Linked DNA regions of Homo sapiens: region 2 is linked to region 1. Evidence: promoter capture Hi-C in 16 types of primary human blood cells and fetal thymus (Javierre and others, 2016). All regions are on one chromosome and are shown on one strand. Each heading gives the region's core, a stretch centred on a gene start or on the middle of the fragment in contact. The rest is flanking DNA. Distances are from core to core; before and after follow the strand shown.

Region 1 (5,869 bases), core at 1,138-3,637:
CTGTAAAGCTATGAGAAAAAAACTAGAGACAGTGTGGCTGTATTCCTGAACTCATTCACAACTTAGCGTTTCCCAACTTGTTGATGTTTTCCCATTGCATGGGAGAGCACTCCTGGGTGGAGAGGGCAGGCTGCTTCCTGGAGGAAGCCCACCAGCCAGGGCCACCAGCCAGGGCCCCACCATCCATGGCCCCACAAACCAGGGCCCTCCCTCTCCAAGAGGGACCAAGCTCCTGGCAGGCCAGTCAGGCAGCTCAGGATGAACCCGCACAAAAGCACCTTGGCTTAGCAAGAGTGAAGCAATTAGCATGCCAAGAGGCAAACCCCAGCAGGCTGGACAAAAGCAGACGCCACACCACACCAAGCCCTGACCTGGGGGACCAGAAACCATAATGGGAGCTGGCTGGGGACGCCAAGGCAGAAAGCAGTGATGACTGACCTCCCACACAGATGCCCTGTAAGGGTCTGGCGTCTCTGCGGCGGCTGGAGCCTGAGGGAAGCCTTACAGCCCAGTGGCTACAAGCACAGCAGCTAATTGGGCCAGTCACTTCCAGCCCCTGCAGATCGGCCCCTGCATCCCTAGGACGGGAGCAGCTGCCTCTCAGGAACCCATCCGGTTTGAAGCCCAGTGGCCCGCACTTAGGAAGTGCTTGGGGGAGGCAGTCATCTTCCTGAAGCCTAGGGATTTACAACAAAGTACAAACCCTTCGGGCCCAGGTCAGGCACCTGTTCTCCTTGTGTGTGGGCCCTGGTGGGTGATATTTGGGGTGTGACATTTCTACCAAAGGGGACATGAGAAATACCTTAGGAAAGTCAAGTCTCAGATGCCCAGCCACAGATAGGTGACCCCAGGGCTGGAAACCAAGTGTTGGTCATGGGTCTGAGACCACCCCTCGACCTTGGCCCCACCTAACGTTCAACTCTGTCCCCACCAGAACCCAACCCACAGATCCTCACCACTCAGCACCAGAAAGCGCCCAGAAGAACTCCTGACCTCGACTGCCCACAGGGTCTAAAGGTGTCATCCCAGGCTCCGAATATCCACCAGAGAATCTTGGCCTCCGCCACACCCACCCCATTCCAGCTCCGCACATCCAGCATGAATCCTGGCCTCTGCCACACCCACCCCAATAATTAAAAAGAAAAAAGGCTGGGTGCGGTTGCTCACACCTGTAATCCCAGCACTTTGAGAGGCTGAGGTGGGCAGATCACCTGAGGTCAGGAATTCAAGACCAGCCTGGCCAACATGGTGAAACCCTGTCTCTACTAAAATACAAAAATTAGCCGGGCGTAGTAGCGGGCTCCTGTAATCCCAGCTACTCCGAGGCTGAGGCAGGGAGAATTGCTTGAACCCAGGAGGCGGAGGTGCAGTGAGCCAAGATCGTGGCATTGAACTCCAGCCTGGGCAACAGAGCAACACTCCGACTCAAAAAAAAAAAAAAACAAAAAACAAACAAAAAACAACAAAAAACAAAAACAAACCCTCTGTCCTCCTGCAGGGCTCTCTCCAGGGTGGGCTATGCGTCCTCCATGTTTACCAAAGTCACTCTTCTCCTCATCCGGAGGGCCTCTGCGGGGCAAGTAGCCAACCCGTGGCACGGAAACCAATTCCCCCATCCCGAGCAGGGAGCACACCCCACAGAAAGTCAGGGGCCCCTTCTTTAACTTCTTAACAGGAAGTCCTCACCCTGCAAGGGCGCCTCTCAGGTTTCGGATCCCTGCTAAAGAAAAGCATCTGTTCTTGGAGTAAACTGCAATGCGCGCGGTGGGGAGCGCCTGGCACCCCCCCTCGGGATCCATCCACAGTCCGTCTTGTCCAGAGGTGCCCTGCGGACAGACCGCACCGGGGGCCACGACCCCGCGCCCCGGGTCCCACCTCCCCGCGGGGATGGGGCGCCGGCCTCCCCTCCACTGCGCGGCGCTTTGTCCTCGGGTTCCCGGAGCAGACGGCGGCGCACAGCCCGGCCCCTGGCCCCGGCCTCCCTCCCGCCTGCCCCGACCCCTCCCTGGCGCCTGCGCTCCCAGGGCCCCCGGCCTTACCACAGCCGCTCGCTCCCTGCACCCGGTCCCCCCAGCCGGGTCCCCCAAGCCGCCCCCGCTCCCTGGCCAGGTCCGGCCGAACCCGGGCGGCGGCGACACTCACCCGCGCCGGGGGCGCCGGCTCCGGGCCCCGGGCTCCGCCACCAGCGCAGCAGAGCCCGCGCGGGCTCCAGGCTCACGGCGCAGCGCTGCTGCTTCACCCACAGCACGGATTGCAGCGGCTCCGCCGCCCCCGTCGCCCCCATCTCCGCCGCCGGGCTCGTCCGCCAGGCTGGGGGCGCGCGGACGCCGAGGGGCGCCGGACCGTTAGCGGCCCCTGCAGTGGCCCGGGCGGCGGGCGGCGGGCGGCGGGAGGCGGCGCTGCGTCACCCCGTACGCGGGCGGCGGGGACCGCGGAGGGGACGGGCGGGGCGGGGGCGAGGAGGAGGCGTGGGTAGAGGAGGGGCCGGGAGCCAGGGAGAGACGGGGGGACCCGAGAAGGGGAGAAGAGGGAGGAGGAAGGGGCCGGGATGGGGCTGGCCGAGGCCAGGGCGCTGGGGCCGGGAGGCGGCTGCCTTTCTCTCCTCTCTTCTCCGGCGGGTGCCGGGTGCTGAATCTGGCGCTCCCGCGGCCGGCCGGGACTCAGTGGCGCCTTCCGCGCGGGCCTCGGTTCAGGCGGGGTCCGGGCGGCGTGGAAACGCAGTCCTGGCGATCGGGCGCGGCGGGGGGCGGGCCTGGATGGGGGCGCCACGGGCGACGTGACCTTGGGCGGCGGGTGCCCTCTACGATCCTGGCGTCCTGTCGGCCTGGGAGGGGGCCTGCAGCTGGGCCCCGACAGGCAGGTAAGGCTTTCAGGAGGCGGAGGTCTTTTTAGGGGGCGGGGGCGCTGGCCCTTTGAACTGCTCTGGGGCCTGAAGCCACAGAGCAGACAGCTGAGCAGCCGCCCCCGAGCTGGCCCTAGGAACCGGAGCCTGGGCCCCAGACTTGGAGAGACACGGCCCCTGTGGCCCCAATTCACCGCCTCCCCAGGAAGGCCTCCTTGACCCCACAGCTGAAGGAATCACCAGCCTGCAGGGACTCCAGCCCTGCCTTCAGAGCACGCCGTGCGCCTTCATGCAAGCTCCAGTCTCTGCGTCCGCAGTGCTTAACACAGCCCCATAGGAAGCAGCCACAACCTGGTTCGGAGGGCACATCCCTCCCTGATTTATCAGTGAAGACTGTGCTCACAGAGGTTAAGTCACTTGCCCAAGAGCACAGGGCTCCAGTGTGGCAGAGCCTAGGCTCACACTGACACTGCCTGGATGTGACACTGAGGTCTGAGGCCTGCCCCTCCCCTCGGCTCCCCTACCCAGCCCTGCTGCTGCAGGCAGAGGTGAGGTGGGCTAGGTCCACGTGGCCTTGCTGCTGTGCCTGGCACCAGGTGGCAGCATATACAGGTCTTACCCTGCCAGCTCCTTGTGACTGTCTTGTCTATAGGGCGGGAACCAGCCATGAATCATTCCTCCCTGGGAGCCCAGCCCCTGTTCAGGCCATGCAGTGAAGGCCCCAGGACAGTCCTGCAGCCACCGTGGGCCCAGTCAGAGTCCTAGCAGGCAGTACCTGATCGTGGCACACAGTGGGGTGTGCAGCAGCGAGGCCTGCCCAGCCTCCTCCCTCCCTCAGCTGCCGCTCTGAGGCCTGGGAAATGTGGATCTGAAACTTACTTGGAAAGAAAAGCTCATGCCAGTGGCAGGAGGGTGCCGCTGCATGCGAAGAGGGTTGGCAGGCAAGGGTGGCATGGGCAGGGGCCCGAGAGCACCAGCGTCCCTACTGGGGACCCCTTCCCTGGGCCTCCCTGTGCTTAGGCTCCCCGTGCCCCTCCCGGCGTATTCACGTTGCTGTCCCCCGGCTGCACGCCTTGGCTTAAAATCCTGCAGCCAGAGGTGGGGGCCCAGAGACGACTCAGAAGTGCTTAGGCCCCGAAGGAGCTCCGTTGGGGGAGACAGCAACATCAGTTACAAAACACACAGGAGATTCAATGAGGCTGTTAGGGTGGGCCCTCATCCAGCGCGTCCTTACAAGAAGAGGAAATGTTGACCGGGCTCTGTGGCTCACACCTGTAATCCCAGCACTTTGGGAGGCTGAAGCGGGTGGATCACCTGAAGTCAGGCATTGGAGACCATCCTGGTCAACATGGTGAAACCCTGTCTCTACTAAAAATACAAAAATTAGCTGGGTGCAGTGGTGCGCTCCTGAATCCCAGCTACTCCGGAAGCTGAGGCAGGAGAATTGCTTGAACCCAGGTGAGCTGAGATTGCGCCATTGCACTCCAGCCTGGGTGACGAGAGCGAAACTCCATCTCAAAAAAAAAAGAAGAGGAAACGTGAACACACACAGACCCCCGAGGCGTGTGTACACAGGGGTGGCCATGGGAAGGGGCAACAAAAGAGAGTGACCTCCAGGAGGCCAACCCTGTGGGCTTGAACCTTGACCTCAGACTTCCAGCCTCTGCCAACTGTTCATGGGAGACGACAGATTGCTGTTGTTGAAGCCATCCAGTCCGTGATATTTTGTTATGGCAGCCTGAGCAGACCCAGGGGACCTGTAGTCCTAGGATGGGCTGGGGAGGGGCCTGGCCACTGCAGGGCCCCATGCTCATGCTCAGGGAGACAGGGTGATGTCACGAAGCCCAGGTTTCCAGAAGATGCACATCCTGCAGTTGAGTTGCATGGGAGAGGGGTTGGGTGGGGGTCAGGCCCTGTGTGGGGCCAGGGCCATGACTCTGGGCACAGCACTGGAGGGATGGGAGGAAAGAGCAGCTCCACCCCAGAGCAGCCGTCAGGTCCCTGCTGTGTGTCAGACCCAGGGGGCCCTTCAGGAGCTGGCTGCGAAGGACACAGGAGCTTTGAAAATGTAGACGAGGCCAGCCCTGGCTGCCTGAGGACCTCCCGGTACCTCACCCACCTCTTCCCTGGCAGGCACCTTTCCCACCTTAGACCCTGCCCAAAATGCCCTTCCCACACGTCTGCCTGGGAGGCCCCCACTCACCTTCTCCTTCAAACCACATCTTGTTTCTTCTGCCACAGAGTCCCCTGATAGCTCACTGCATGGCACTTCCACCCCCGGCTGCCACAGGGCCTCACTTCTCCTTGTGGCACTTCAGAACAACTGATGCCCCAACCTGTTGCTAGCCTGCTGTGTACATGGCTGGTCAGCTCTGCACAGGGCCCTGAGCTGCCAGGTAGGCCAGAGAGCATGGGCTCAGCCCCAGCAGCCTGGAGTTCTGGTCCTAATTAGTCAGGCCCTGACCTGCCACCTGACCCTGTCTTGTGTCCAGTCTGCAGGCTTGGGTTGCTGCCTGGTGGCCTGATGGCCCTGGAGCCTGCTAAGCCAGACATCCTGCCCAGCGGCGGCCAGCACCCGTTCCCCTGGGCGGCCAGGTTGTCCCACCCATGGGCCACCTGGCTCCTGAGGTTCTGTCTAAGCTGGTCCAACCCCATACCCACGAGTGTCCCACCCACTGGGTCATCCATACCACGGGCCCCGGCCCCTCCTGTCCACGGAGCCCTGGCCACCAGCAGGAGCCTGGCACCAGCAGCCCCGTCTAACATGGTCCCCGCCATGGCCTCTGATCTATTCTTCCCTTCTCTTCCTGGGCCCCTGGCCTTGTTTGCTGTGCCAGTCCTTCCAGCTTATCTCCCGAGACTCCCTGTCTCGTGAAGTCAGCACCACCATCTGACATCAGAAACTAGAATGCTGGGTTGGGTGGGAGGATCCTGGCACCAGCTGTACATGGGCTGCCAGGAATGCCATCCTCTGCCCTCCACCTTCAAGGAGAAGCCTCCCATGCTCCTCTTTAAGGCTGACTGCCT
Region 2 (5,869 bases), core at 248-2,747, 400 kb before region 1:
CGCGACTGCAGCTCCGACTACCTGGGAGCAGTTCCGCGCCCCTCTCCACCCACGCGCGCCCACCCACAGTGAGAAGCCGGCGGGCCGGGGTGGGGTGGGGAGGGAAGGGTTTCTCACGGATCTGCGGCGTCCACATTCACCTGTGAGACCGTGGACACTGGTGAGGGGAGCTGGGATCGCCGGGCCGGGGGCCTGACCTCTGCACACGCTGTGGCCGCCCGGTGGGAGGTCCTTGTCCTCCCCACTCAGCAGACTGGACAACTGCCGCGCGGCGGGTCTGCTTGTTCAGCGTCTCCTGTGTTCTCCGCTCGCTGGAGGACAAAGTTTTCTCCAGGAGCATTTGCATTTCTTCCGGCATCTAAACGGAGCCCCACGGGTGCTTAGCATTCCTCGGGCCCGGCGCTGAAATGAGCACTTGTTTAACTTCACCTGTGTGGCTCCCCGCGGGAGGCCTCATTCACAGAGTCACGTTTGTGGAGCTCTGCTTTGCGCCATCTTTGGCTCCTGACCTTGGGCAAGTGAATTAAGCCGTCCCCTGTAAAATTCGGCTAACACCTGCCTCACGGGGTGACTGGAGGGATTAGATGACATAGTACATACTGATGAGTACGTGCTCAGCACATACGAGGTACGCAGAAAACAGTAGTGGCTATTAGTTTATATTGTTAATAACCATAGCTATTATGGTAGGTACAGTAAGTGCCAAAGAGAAGGGTAGGCGGACCATAAGCAGAAATAGTTGTGAGGAAGGGAGAGTGGAGGAAAGCATCCTAGAGATGGAGGTGCTCAGCTGAGTCGAAAGAAGAGTAGGATGTCACTAAGCAGAGACTTGGAGGTGGAGGCGGCCCTCCCGGCACAGTCAGCAGTGCAAGCAGAATCACAGAGGCCTGCAAGTGTGGGCTGGTTCTGGCCAGATGGAGATGGAAGGAGAGGAGCCTGGAGCACGTTTAGCCCTGATTATGGAAGATGCTATACCAGGGGCTTTAGACTGTTAGGTAGACATTAGTCTGGTTGATCTGGGATAGGGGTGGTCTTTCGCGTGTGGTGGTGTAGTTTTGACAAAGCTTTGTCATCAAATTTCTGTTGTTTTGGGTACTATATGAAGCCTTCTTCAGCAGTCATTTGCCCTGTCTTTCATTACATTCAGCCTACCTAAACGAACCAGCTTTCTCATACAGGGTCTGCACCTGTGTAGTTTGCTAAGGTGGTGTAGGGCTAAAGTTGGCCTTTCCAATATTTGGGTGAATATTTTGTTACAATCGAAAAGGTAGAAAATAGGTCATAAACTAGGTGGTACAGCTCTTACAAAATATCGAAAATTTTAATTATCTTTATATCTGATCACTTAGAATCTAAGTCTTAGATAGTAACTAGAAATAACTTTTGAAAAGAGTTTCCTTTTTTGATAACTGAATGGTGCTTTGAAAAATTTTGTTGAGTTTCGACTATTCCTTCGTGTATTCCACACACACTGGCTGATCCCCTCCTGCTAGGTATTGTGCTGATACATAGATGGGGACACAAAGATGAGAAAATACCACCTCGTTAATCTTGGGGACTCAGGCACCAAGATGGAAACCGGATCCCTGAAGCCACATGGCAAAGCAGGGACTGCCCGGCAGGCCAGGCACAGAGGCACAGGAGCACAGCGTGTGGGGAACTTCTCAGAGCTCAGAAATCACTGCCGTTTTACCGAAGGTTGATTTATGTATTCTCTTTAATTGACCTTCCCGCCCGCAGGTTACCAGGTGACAGGGGTGTTTATGAAGAACTGGGACTCACTGGATGAACATGGGGTCTGTACTGCCGACAAAGACTGTGAAGATGCTTACAGAGTTTGCCAGATCTTAGACATCCCTTTCCATCAAGTGTCCTACGTAAAGGAGTATTGGAATGATGTGTTCAGGTGAGTGCGGGTCACAGCACAAAGGAAGCTTCCTCACACTGTGGATCCTTGCAGTGGAAGGATCCGGTAACCAGCCAGACCGACGCCTGTGCTGCAGCCCAGCGCTCTCCCTCCACGGTGGTGCTGAAGACTGCAAGAGGCCTCAGCCACCCTCGGGGCTCTGTGTTAGAGGCGAGGCCTGGACCCCACAGCACACCCAGCTCTCTCACTCCTGTCATTTTGCCACTTGCCTGAAGTCTCTTTAATGCTTTCTTGGACCTTGAGCTGTTTCTGTTGCCCAGTTAGGATAGGGGAGCTAAGGCTGAGGGCTCCCCTGGAAGGTGAGCACCAATGCCTGTGTGCTATGTGGGTCAGCGATTAGGGGATTTCTGAGAAAGAGGTGATACATGGCCTGTGCCTCTGAAAACAAGAAACAAACAAAAACTTTTCTAAAATCCAATATAATCTCAATAATTAAGTGCTGTGTGCTAGGCGTGTGCCACATCTAGGAACATTAAGATGTCTTCACTGTGACCTGGCTCTGTAGGAGTTTGCGGTCTAGTTGGGAGGACATTATCTTCACAAGAGGTGACAGTGATGCGTGGCACGCAGGAAGTACCAGTGATGCTATCAGTCACTGAACCCAGAGGAGGGAGAAACTTGCAGTGTGGAGTAATCAAGAAGGCTTCACCGGAGAGGAGGGGTTGCAAACAAAGTTGTAGAGAAGGGACTCCAAATGGGGTAACGAGAGCAGCGTGAAGGGGAGAAGAAATGCTGATTGTGTATTTCAGGACCGTTGTAAAGTTTGGCTGGACTTTTGTTCCTGCAGTGGAAGGAGTGTAGGGCTCATCCTCTGGTGAGCCCTGACTGTGATGAATGTCGGGCAGTTGTCGAAGGCGTCTGACACAGCAGGCCATGTGCGCGGGACAGGCTGCCCCTGCCTGAGTGGGCTTTAGGGGCAGAAGAGCCTTGGGTTGAGTCCTGACTGTAGCTTATTATATGACCTTGGGCAATTTACTTGACTTTGTTTTTTTAATTGAAAAAAATTCTCTTTTTTTCCTGCCAACAAAGACCCAGAAGAGATACTTGACTTTTCTAAGCCCCAATTTTCTCATCTTTAAAATGAGGATAACACTGATGCCTCACAGGGTTATGAAAGAATTGAGATTAGGTTCTAGTATGTATGCCTGGTATATTAGTAAGCAGTCAATAAACATAGCTGTTTTTCTTTTCTATTTTTTTTTGAGACAGAGCCTCGCTCTGTTGCCCAGGCTGGAGTGCAGTGGCGCAATCTTGGCTCACTGCAACATCTGCCTCCCAGGTTCAAGCGATTCTCATGCCTCAGCCTCCCAAGTAGCTGGGATTATAGGCATGCACCACCACGCCCGGATAATTTTTGTATTTTTAGTAGAGACAGGGTTTCGCCATGTTGGCCGGGCTAGTCTCAGACTCCTGACCTCAGAAGATCCACTCGTCTCAGCCTCCCAAAGTGCTGGGATTACAGGCGTGAGCCACCACGCCAGCCTGCTATTTTTATTTTCATTATTAAAAAGATGAGTCTGGGGAGCTAAGCTATGAGGACGCAAAGGCATAAAAATGATATAATGGACTCTGGGGTGAGGGATAAAAGACTACACATCGGGTACAATGTCCACTGCTTGGGTGACGGGTACACCAAAATCTCAGAAGTCACCACTGAAGAACTTATCCATGTGACCAAATACCAGCTGTTGCCCAAAAAACCATTGAAATAACAATAAAACGAAATTTAGAGAGATTAAGTAAATTGACTATGGTCACCTAAATAATCAACGGAAGAGCTTGAATATGAACCCTCTGTGACTCTATGCTATAACATATGGGTGTCGTATATATTAACAACATGGACAAAACTGATGGCTGAATTTTCCTGGGGAAAGTTACCTGTAGAATGCATGATAAATGCATTAAAAACTTATCTGTAGAATGCATGATAAATGCATTAAAAACTTCTGCAGTTTTCTCGGGGACATAAGAAAAAAAAAAGAGTGTGGCGGCCAAATACAGGATAAATCTGGGGGAAGACCAAAGGCAGAGAGTCTCAGGAAGTGCTGTTGCTGGAGATTTGGACTTCATGGGGAGGGAGTGTGGGAGTGGAAGGTGAGGGCTGGCTTGTTGGACCCAGAGGACAAGTCCACCGGGCAGTAGATCTGAGGTGCTTGTTAAACACAGACCTGGACCGAGGTCTGGGGGCGGCCCTGGAATCTGCTTTAATAAGCACTTCAGCTGTGCTGGTGGTGTGGGGGGTTGTCAGGGTCTTTCTTTGAGAAAAGGTGTGATGCGGCTTAGGGACTGATGTGTGTGGGAGACCAGAGAGGAGAGGAGTCAGCAGTAGTTTCAAGATCAAGGCTGGGTGGCTGGGGAAAGCTGGTTTAGGGGATTCCTCATGAGTACTGTAGAGTTTGAGGGGACAACAGGGAATCCAAGTGAGCTTACACTTCACCTGCCAGCACAGCTTTTTCAGAACGTACGAGTGGATGCGATTTTTGAAGTTTAGCTCAGCTGAGGCCAGATAGGAAGAGTGACTTGAATAGTATGGCAAATTAGGAGCGGAGCTGGGATTAAACCCCAGAATTAGGAGCGGAGCTGGGATTAAAACCCAGAATTAGGAGCGGAGCTGGGATTAAACCCCAGAATTAGGAGCGGAGCTGGGATTAAACCCCAGAATTAGGAGCGGAGCTGGGATTAAACCCCAGAATTAGGAGCGGAGCTGGGATTAAACCCCAGAATTAGGAGCGGAGCTGGGATTAAACCCCAGAATTAGGAGCGGAGCTGGGATTAAACCCCAGAATTAGGAGCGGAGCTGGGATTAAAACCCAGCTTTCCAGGCCAGTGCTTGCTGCCGCCTTCTGGCGCTGCTTGATAGGGACTGAGAGAAGGAGGCGGCCGGGTAGAGTCTTTTCCCATCTCTGGGGCTGCCCCCGAGGTCGCCCCTGGCTCCAGCCAGCCTGCCCTCTGCCCTCGCCCAGTACCAGCTGCCCGTGGAGGCATTGGTCTTTCCGCTGAAGACTCACTTCTCTAGTAGGGCTCTCTAGCTCAGAGATTTCTTTTGCATTCTTTCATTCAAGACCCACTGGCCTTCAAGGATCAGAGTCCAGATACGTTTTAGCTGCTGAGTCTTTTAAATCTGTCTCCCTCCCGAGGCACATGAAAGGCTTCTCTTCTTTCCAGTTAGAGAAGAGGCTGGGCTACTCCATTGTTTTTGCTAATGCCAAAACACACGCCTTCCCATCTGCTGTTTACGAAAGGGTTAACAGTGTGTCTTTTCAGAAACTGATTTTAATGTTCAGCCTCTTCAACATTTATTGATGACTGTGATATAGAAAGTTTGTTGGGTCTAGGACACAGACACAGATTGCACCTTAAGTAGTTTATAGTTTAATGAGCTTCCTGGTAACTTTCTAATAATTAAAGCAAAATGGAAAGAGTGTAATAATATCAAGTGTTGTTGCAAATGTGGAAAAACATGAGTTTTTATGAACTTCTAGGGGGACTGAGAAGTAGGAAAACAGTTTGGTGCCTGCTAAAGTGGAAGATATCCAAGGAACCTCTGACCCTGTGCAGATCTGTGATATGTCTGCAAAACACAAACCTCTTGATCAGCACTGGTTTTTTTTTTAACCCTTGTTGATTAATAGAGAGTTTTAGGTTAAATGAAAAAAATCACTTATACCAAAAATACACCCATTTTTAAACTCCCAAAATAGGCATCATAACCCTCTTGAAGTGAATCCTCGAAGACTATGAAATTCTTGGTAAGTTTTGCTGGTATCATGGCATCTTTTTCCCATGTTCAGTCAGTCTGTTAGAGCAGAAGTTCACTGAATTAGGATAGCCTGATCCACTTTAAGCACCCAAGAGTTTGCTAGTTCTCAGAAGTGTGTGTTTGTCACCTGAGGATAGTATTTTTGGTATATTTGCCCAGTGACGCAGCATTCCAGGCTG

Evidence for each region. Contacts are between HindIII fragments. The CHiCAGO score rates a contact against its expected background, and 5 or more counts as called.
Region 2: a fragment that was not itself captured here is called in contact with the fragment with the promoter of CERK in region 1 in 2 of 17 cell types (M0 macrophages and endothelial precursors); the score reaches 5.9 in M0 macrophages.

Annotation. Positions count from the first base shown.
Region 1 is chr22:46,735,865-46,741,733 of GRCh38, forward strand. It overlaps CERK (ceramide kinase), which reads right to left and starts at 2,388. Exons shown (of 13, transcript NM_022766.6): 1 at 2,143-2,388. The coding sequence starts at 2,284. It overlaps LOC105373077 (a long non-coding RNA gene), which reads right to left and starts at 528. Exons shown (of 2, transcript XR_001755593.2): 1 at 439-528. RefSeq lists enhancers at 200-773, 1,461-1,630, 2,869-3,527, 2,901-3,230 and a silencer at 1,781-2,740. The HindIII fragment of the contact is 34,881 bases long and covers 1-5,869 here.
Region 2 is chr22:46,336,039-46,341,907 of GRCh38, forward strand. It overlaps TRMU (tRNA mitochondrial 2-thiouridylase), which reads left to right. Exons shown (of 11, transcript NM_018006.5): 2 at 1,741-1,906. Among named protein-coding and RNA genes, the nearest start is that of TRMU, 3.3 kb to the left of the region's middle. RefSeq lists an enhancer at 1-265 and a silencer at 74-123. The HindIII fragment of the contact is 870 bases long and covers 1,063-1,932 here.